2 separate regions of the Homo sapiens genome follow, and region 1 is linked to region 2. Evidence: promoter capture Hi-C in 16 types of primary human blood cells and fetal thymus (Javierre and others, 2016). All regions are on one chromosome and are shown on one strand. Each heading gives the region's core, a stretch centred on a gene start or on the middle of the fragment in contact. The rest is flanking DNA. Distances are from core to core; before and after follow the strand shown.

Region 1 (4,896 bases), core at 1,484-3,983, 250 kb before region 2:
TAGTGAAGGTCTGGGCATGGGAGGTGGAGACAGTACAAAAAATAGTTAGAAAGAATGAATTAAAAAATAGAAAGAATGGGTACAAAAATAGAAAGAATGAATAAAAGTTACTATTTGATAGCACAACACAGTGACTATTATCAATAATAATTGTACATTTTTTAATAACTTAAATAGTGAATTGGATTGTCACTCAAAGGATAAATACTTGAAGGAATGGATACCCCATTCTCCATGATGTGCTTATCTCACACTGCATGTCTAGAGCAAAACATCTCATTTATCAAATAATAAATACCTACTATGCATCCACAAAATTTAAAAATAATAAAATTAAGTGTACAATTGAGTGGCTTTAAATATGGTTACAATGCTGTGCAACCATCACCTGTATGTAAGCCCAGAATACTTTCATCATCTCAAAAGGAAACTCCGTAACCATTAGTCAGTCTGTCCTTATCATCCTGTCCCCCTTGGCTCTGACAGCAATTCATTTGCTTTCTGTTTCTATGGACTATTGTAGGTATTCATATAAATGGAATCACACAAGAGATGGGCAACTGAGTCTAACTTTTTCACTTAATATGTTTTCAATAGTTATATATGTTGCAACATGTACCATACTTCACTTCTTCTGGTGACAGAATAATAATTCCATAATAATTCCTTTTATGGGTATACTTTATTTTGCTTATCCTTTCAGCAATCGATGGATATATACGTCATTTCTACTTTTTGATTAATAATGTTGTAAAAAATATTCCTGGAAAAATCCTAGGGAAAACAAAGGATAACCCCAAAAGGTAAAATAAATAAATAAGTAAATAAGGTGGCAAACCAAACAAATATTTTGGTTTGGGAGGTAAAGGTTAATTATTTAATCTCTACCACAAGTTGATCCTATTTCACAGGGCTAGGATATATATATATATATAAAATATATATATATAAAATATATTTATATACACACACATATACATACATACACATACATACATACATATGCAATAAAAAAGTACAAAGGCAAAACTATATACAATATATGCACAAAGAGTTTCATAGAAATAGAAACTAAACATACTAAAAACCTTCCCCAAAATTTTTTGAGGAAATATTAAAGTCAAAGTAGAAACCAAAGAAAGTAAGTACTGGGTAGAGACAACTTTCGATAAACAATAGATGAAATGCATGACACCATGCAATTAAAGCTGATTGCAGCACTGTTCAGAATAGCCAAGATTTGGAAGCAACCTGTGTCCATCAACAGATGAATGGATAAAGAAAATTTGGTACATATACACGGTGGAGTACTATTCAGCCACAGTAAAGAATGAGATCCTGTCATTTGCAACAACAGGGATGGAACTGGAGATTATTATGTGAAGTAAAATACCATAATAATTATGTTCAGGCAAGAAAGACAAACATCACATGTTCTCACTTATTTGTGGTATCTAAAAACCAAAACAATTGAACTCATGATCATAGAGAATAGAAGGATAATTACTAGAGGCCGGGAAGGGTAGTGGGTTGGGGTGGGAGCTGGCGGGGAAGGTGGTGATGGTTAATGAGTACAAAAAAAAAAGTTATAAAGAATGAATAAGACCTAGTATTTGATAGCACAACAGGGTGACTATAGTCAATAATAACTTAATTGTACATTTAAGAATGAGTAGTATAATTAGATTGTTTGTAACACCAAAGATAAATGCTTGTAGGAATGGATAACCCATCCTCCATGATGTGATTATTATGCATTGCATGCCTGTATAAAAACATCTCATATACCCCATAAATATATACATGTAATATGTACCCACAAAAAATTGAAAATTAAAAAAAAATCAAACTGATTGAACCAAATTGTTTCATTTTCCTGTCTGACACAGTTTCCCTCAAGCAAAATAATGGAAAACACTGAAGTTATTTTTCTCACATTATTAGTACACAATGAAAATTTTAAAATGGGGAATCCACTTACATTAACACAACTTCTTGGCTGATCTTCAATTTTCGACTTAGCAACACTGGTATGGATTTACACAAATAATTTCAAGGCTAAGAAAAGCTTTGTAATTAGTATTCTGGTTATAAGAAAAATATGTGCTTACAAAATGAGAAAGTGTTTCCTTGTATAACAAAATTATCAATTTTCTTTCTGTGAAGCTTGTAAATTTGTTCTTCATGTTTGTGTATTCTATTTTTCAAATTTCCTTTACAATTTATTATTAAAGAAACTAAATTAATAATTTATACACATACATACATAATTGTATAGATTACTGTGAAAATAAGCTAGATTTTCTAATGTAGTTTGATAAATATTTGACTAATATATGCCAAGTTCTCATAAATATTTGAAAAATATTGAATTATTGCTTGCTTTTCCTGATCGATTCATTTAAGCAGTCAACTCTTAACTCTATATGTCTGTAACAGAAGCAAGTAGAGAAATTAGAGAACGTAAAGATACCTCTAGGTTGAAAATAAAAAATATATCTTTAGGATGAGTTATGCTGTCTTTATCTCACATTGCATATTTATCTTATGTTACATATATAATATCTCACATTATATATTTAATATATATTACATTATATCTCATATATTTAATATACCTTATATTAATATATATTAAAACTGTAACTATAAAAGGGAAACACATAAATATCCTATTTATGTCTCTTGTGTTTCCTTTTTATATAGTTTTAATTACTAAAACTGGCTTTATTGTTACATGAGAAGTTTAGTTCTCATCTCAATTACATTTATAAGCATCTCAGTTAAAGATCTTGCTGATACAAAATAATATAGCACTAAGCACAAGTTATATAATACTTTCTCCAAAACAAATTAAAAACGCTTTTTTTAAAGTTAGCAAAAATTTATTTTACTTTGTTAATTCTCTCTTCTTTTAATACAGCAGCTACATTTTAATTTTATCTTACATGCCGCTTTCTGTATTTCTCTAATTTGTGCTTCCCGAGAGTCAAAGGGAAAGAGATTTCGATTGAGAAAGATGTCTGTTTGAACTGTACTATAAATTGCCTCTGAGAATGATATTTATACTTGCTGGAAACTCAGCTGGGCAATGTGACTGCTGTGGCAATGTAAATTTACACAAATCTATCTAATTGCTGGTGATGAAAGAAAGATAATTCAGCTTTATATTTTATGAAAAAGGGAAATTATAATACCTTCTAGTCCCCAATACGCTGAGTTCCCGATTATCAGGATTTGAAGCTGAGGGCCACAACTTTTTTTAAAAAGTGATGAGTCTCATCAAGAAATATAAGCTTATAAAATGCTTTTAATACTATATTACTTTATAATTCTGCAAGAATAATAGATTTGTATTATGCTGTGAGTGAGTAGGTCTATTAAGTGATAACATTAAAAACAAATACCACCATTTATAAAGTATGATTTTGATATCATCGGTTGTGCATTTTCACCCCAAACTCTGTAAATAGTAACTTTGTTTCCTCACTTGACCATGCTCAGTCTTTACAGACCATGCTCTTTTCTCAAAATGACTGTAGGTTCATCCAAGTATGTTTGCTGTCCAAAATCAATGAAACACAGTCACAACTATGTCTGTCTAGGAATAAAGCCAGTTAATTAGATTCTTATTCTAAGGAACAAGAGGAGGGCAGGTAAGAACTTGATTATGGAAGAATTCTGACCATAATCAAGAACTGTTTTCTATTTTTTCTCCATGTTGTCGGGTGGTTCATACCTGACTTTCATCATTTCCAATGATTCCTGTTTGCTTTGTTTATAAATATTCAAAATCATCATAAAAATTTCGCTGAATGAAAACCTGAAAATTGGGGAAATAAACATTCTGCAAAACAAATGTCTGCAACACTTCTACCTTCAAACTAAGTGGATGAAATCAAGTCTGAATTTCTGAGAATAATAATAGTATACACTCAAAGATTCTGTACACTTTGGCAAAACATCTCTCCAATTTATCTACTATGAACTACAACAAGAAAAATCCTGTCACTACCCCTGTCTCCTTTTTATGTCCTTTAATACCTAATTTCCAGATGCCAATAGAATGAGCTGAATGCAGTTTGGCCCAGATGTTCAGAATCTTGGTCAAAGAACACATGAGAATCCTACAATATATGTACATGTACTCCCCCCAACATTAAAATCCCTTGATACCTTTACTACTGATATGAGCCTTTAAAGAAAATTATGTGTTATATGTCCCAAGGGGATATTTCATATAATTAGGGTCACAGTGTTGGAATTAAGACAACGCTCACAGGAGATGAAAGGGTGGAAACACTCCATGCTCATCACCTATATGATGCCTCATAAGTAACTAGTGAATACTTTCCTATGAATGTATCTGTACATGTGCTTATGTGTGGCCATGTATATGTGGGGGGAAGCGAGAAAGAACACAGGATGTTTTTATTTTAAAAATTATGTTATTAATAAGATTGCAGAGTTGTTTCTTTTTGCTTAAGGCCTTGTGGCATACAAATTGGAAGCAAGCACAGAATGTGTTAATTGCTCACACAGACAACTTTGCATCTTCCTTTTTTTATGTTTTCATGTATTAAGTAACATCATTGAGTGCTTCATACTCTCAGAGTTAGTCTAGGAACTTTGAAAAAAGCATCAGAAAACATGGGCCTTGGTTTTCAAGCAATTTATTTCCAAGGAAGATTGGTGATGAATATTATGGAATTGTAAAAATTAATCAAAAGTTCAGACTTATTACATATAAATATTAAACTAGCAATAAATAGATGCCTTAATTTTGAGATAATAATAGTGATGCAAATAAACGCAATAATAAAAGACAATAATTAATCTAATTTTATGTATTTTTATTTAGAAGAAAAATGTTTGTTTTTATTAAGTGTAAAAATA
Region 2 (4,455 bases), core at 524-3,023:
TCATGCTCCACCAAAACCTGTCAAACCTAACGAGGCTTCCAGACCCTGAGACCCCAGGGCTAGGCAGAGCATTGGTAGAAGTGTGCCCTCTTCCTTACCTCCAGGAGGACCACATCCCAAAGTGGCCATTGGTCCTAATGATTGGAAGACTGATTATATCTAGTGAGTTCTTTATGTAATTAATATCTCAATCAGTACATTAAGGTTCCCTTTAATAATGGTCTAGGTGGATTTGATAGGGAAAAAGTAAAATATTAGCTAAGAAAATGGTACCCTCTCTTTCTGATGCTTTGGCATCTCATATTCCTTTTTTCATAAATCCAGCTCCCGGAACTCAAGAGTTCTGTGATCTAGAATTGTCAATCTCAGGTTGGGAACACCTGATTCCAGTGCAGAAGCTGCAGGGCAGCTGGTCATTAGAGTAGGATATGAAAGTTCCCTTTCTTATCTCCACCTTCCTGTGAGGTCCCTGGGGAGAAAAGGGGCAAGATCTTGGTCTGGTAATCAATTTTTCATTGTCCTGGATCGATCTCACTTTTGAGTGCAATTGCAAGAGAATAGGCCTGAGTCTTGCTGTAGTAAGTTAGCAACTGGCCTTATAGCATGATGAGGATCTGACATGGATGGTGCTGGGGGTCTAGATATTCTCAATAAAGAATCATTGGTTTGATAGCAGAAGGTCTCCTGGCCAACGGCCTATCATCCCTTTGCTTGTCTTCAACACACTGGGAACATATGGGCTCGAGCTTTTTGCTTGTTCCTTAGCTATCTGTGTGGTGCTCCTCCCTCTCCAGGCAGGTGGATGGAATATATAAAATCCAGACCCTGAAGGCTTCCTAGTAACACAGAATATGCATACAATTTCATATATACATTCGATAAGACATGTACACTCTCACTCATATAAATAATTATTTCCATCTGCATCTAAATAAAAACCAAACACAATTCTCCAAATTTACATGGGACCAAGAATCCAGCTTTTTAGTTGCCTGTATTTGTCCCCTTAAGAATTTTACTACTAACCACCTCCTCTCCCACCTCTTGATTTACAGACGACATTCCCCCTTAATGCTTTGACATAAAGGTGGGCACACAAGAGTGGGTTAGGACATTGAAACAAATCATTCTAAAACTTCTGTTATATTGACATGTAGAAGAGACCAAGTGATATGTGAATAAAAGGCATATTATAAAAAAGAGCTAATTCACATTTAGTTTGGCATGTGCCTATGAAGAGCCTTCCTGGTTAGCCCTACTCCTGCTTCCTAGGACAGAGGAAAATTTTCCCCACCACATGGGAGCACAATTAAATATAGAATCCCAAAATCTAGACTCTATATAAGACCCAAATTTCCAGATCATTAAAAAAATTAATGCGCTCCTTCCTATGGGAGAGACTGCATTCTTATAGGAATGTGGCTTTATCTATGGCTTCAGTAGACCCAACTTTTCATACAAGTCTAACATCCCTATAAGGAACATACACACAGTATCACACGGAAACACACATCCCACATTTAAAAATATGGTTTTTATTTACTTTTTTGTTTTCTTACTAGTTCCATCCAGAGAACTTTGTCCCTGTTTTCTGGAAAATTATTTTATTTTATTGTAGAGCCCTGGACCCCTAAATATGTCCTCCTTCCCCAGCTGGCCCAGGGTGACTGCGAGGATAGAGTTGACATCACAATATCCCTTTTCTGAGGATTCATGCCCCTGGTGGGTGGGGTAGGAGGAGGGGTAGCCCTAGGAGAAGTCATCACCACTTTGTCCACCATGGGTGAATTATGAATCAGTAGCTATGCCAGGCCTCAGCTGGGCCACATCTGGAGAACTGGGGTGAGGGCACAACATCACAAAATATCTGGCCCCAGTCTGGTCACTCATCCCTTTTAGGGCAACAAGGAAACTATCCTGTGGCCTGAGAGCACAATACCTGAGACAAAGGCCAGCAGAAACATTTGTCTGCCCTCACCCTTTCTGCCCCAGCTTCCACCTGCTCCCCATCTGCCCACCCACTAAAGCCCATGTGGCATGCCATCTCTCGAACATCCAGGATGTCCCAGAGTGGATGTCCATCAGGTCTGCTGGCAGACAAAAATATCTCTTCAAGTGCCACTCGAGTGATAGTGAAGACTGCAGGCAACCAGAAAGACTTTATGGTAGCTGATGACATCTCGGTAAGGCAGTTCAAGGAGATGCTATTGGCTCACTTCCAATGCCAGATGGACCAACTAGTGCTGGTCTTCATGGGTTGCCTTCTCAAAGACCATGACACACTGAGCCAGAGGGGCATCATGGATGGCCACACCATCTACTTGGTCATCAAGTCCAAGCAGGGCTCCAGATCTCTAGCCCATTCCTTCCGGGACCTGCCAACGAATGATCCCTGCCACCGGGACAGAAACACCAAAGGAAACAGCAGCAGAGTGCACCAACCAACTGGTATGAATCAAGCTCCAGTGGAACTGGCCCACTTTGTGGGGTCTGATGCACCCAAAGTGCATACCCAAAACTTGGAAGTGAGCCACCCAGAGTGCAAAGCACAGATGCTGGAGAATCCTAGCATCCAGCGGCTTCTGTCCAACATGGAGTTCATGTGGCAGTTCATTTCAGAACATCTAGACACGCAACAATTGATGCAGCAGAACCCAGAAGTTTCCCGCCTTCTTCTTGATAATTCTGAGATCCTATTGCAGACTCTGGAGCTGGCCAGGAACCTTGCTATGATCCAAGAGATAATGCAGATCCAACAACCTTCACAAAACCTTGAGTATCCACTGAACCCACAGCCATATCTGGGCTTAGAGACAATGCCAGGTGGGAATAATGCCCTGGGTCAGAACTATGCTGATATCAATGATCAAATGCTGAACAGCATGCAAGATCCTTTTGGAGGAAACCCTTTCACAGCTCTCCTGGCAGGACAAGTGCTAGAACAAGTCCAGTCTTCACCCCCACCTCCACCACCATCACAGGAACAACAAGACCAGCTCACACAGCATCCTGCAACCCGAGTCATCTATAATAGCTCTGGTGGTTTCTCTTCAAACACCTCAGCCAATGACACCCTTAACAAGGTCAACCACACTTCCAAAGCCAACACTGCTATGATTTCCACCAAGGGCCAGAGCCATATCTGTGCCACTCGGCAGCCAGCTTGGATACCAGCCTTACCTAGCATAGAGCTTACCCAGCAGCTTCAAGAAGAATACAAGGATGCCACTGTTTCTCTAAGTAGCTCCAGACAGACATTAAAGGGTGATCTCCAGCTGTCAGATGAGCAGAGCAGCTCCCAGATCACAGGAGGCATGATGCAGTTGCTTATGAACAACCCCTACCTGGCAGCTCAGATTATGTTGTTCACAAGTATGCCCCAGCTGAGTGAACAGTGGAGGCAGCAGCTGCCCACATTCCTGCAGCAGACACAGATTTCTGATCTGCTTAGTGCTTAGGCAACCCTAAAGCATTCCAAGCAATATTGCAGATTGAGCAGGCCCTCCAGCTGCTGGCCACAGAGGCTCCTGTTCTTCTGCCTTGGGTTGCACCCTACCTATGGGGCCTGGGTTGGCTTCCTGCCCCCAGCTGCAGCTATCCTGACACAGTGCCCTGTTCCTGGAATGTTTCAGATACAGCTGAGCCCAAGGGACCTGAGTGCTGCCACAAGCCTGGAACAGTCCTGCAGAGGCTACAATCCCCGGATGGGGACCCTTCCCACCCTCTGCAAGCTCCTGAGATTTGTTTTAGCAAACAGATGGATTCTCTCCAGGCCATGGGATTTGGGAACCACCATGCCAATCTACAGGCACTCATTGCTACTGAAGGGGACACCAATGCTGCTATCCGCAAGCTCAAGAGATCCCAGAGATTCTAACCACCATGCCTACTTGTTTGCTTGCTACCTGCCTGCTGACCCACCTGACCATCTCATTTGCCTTTTGCACCTTTCCTGATGCTTCCAGCCAGGAGAAGTCCTGGAATAAGAGTTATCAACCAATGTGTCTTGTACTGAATAATAGATCATTGGTCGTGGCTGAAACATCTGTCAATAAAATGGCTACACTCACTTGCTGCGATCTGAGGTTTGGCTTTACTTCTTTTGCAAAAAAAAAAAGAAAAAACTAGCTGTGTGAGATTTTTGTCTCACCTACTATATGTACATTAACACACAAACCACATGCATATATTAATATAGAGATAAAAATAATGTTTTTATCTCTAAAACATGAGCATTTTGAGCATGGTATATGAAACTTGAGCATGGTATATGAAACTGATTATTTTGAGCATGTCACCTTGGACAGGTGTGTGTATGTACACAAGCTCACATAGTAAAAAATTCACATATACAGGCATATAGAGTCCACATATGAGTACACACAGCCATGTGCAAACACAGATGCAAATACCTAGAGACACATAAATAGACCCATATGTAGGGAAAACAATCAT

The links. Contacts are between HindIII fragments. The CHiCAGO score rates a contact against its expected background, and 5 or more counts as called.
Region 1: a contact is called between a fragment that was not itself captured here and the fragment with the promoter of UBQLNL in region 2, in 1 of 17 cell types (monocytes). The highest score is 5.2, in monocytes.

What each region holds. Positions count from the first base shown.
Region 1 is chr11:5,769,021-5,773,916 of GRCh38, reverse strand. It overlaps OR56B2 (olfactory receptor family 56 subfamily B member 2), which reads right to left. Exons shown (of 2, transcript NM_001396057.1): 2 at 4,837-4,896. Among named protein-coding and RNA genes, the nearest start is that of OR56B2, 10 kb to the right of the region's middle. The HindIII fragment of the contact is 1,130 bases long and covers 2,169-3,298 here.
Region 2 is chr11:5,514,017-5,518,471 of GRCh38, reverse strand. It overlaps UBQLNL (ubiquilin like), which reads left to right and starts at 1,773. Exons shown (of 1, transcript NM_145053.5): 1 at 1,773-4,079. The coding sequence starts at 2,031. The coding sequence ends at 3,458. It also overlaps the pseudogene OLFM5P. The HindIII fragment of the contact is 7,757 bases long and covers 1-4,455 here.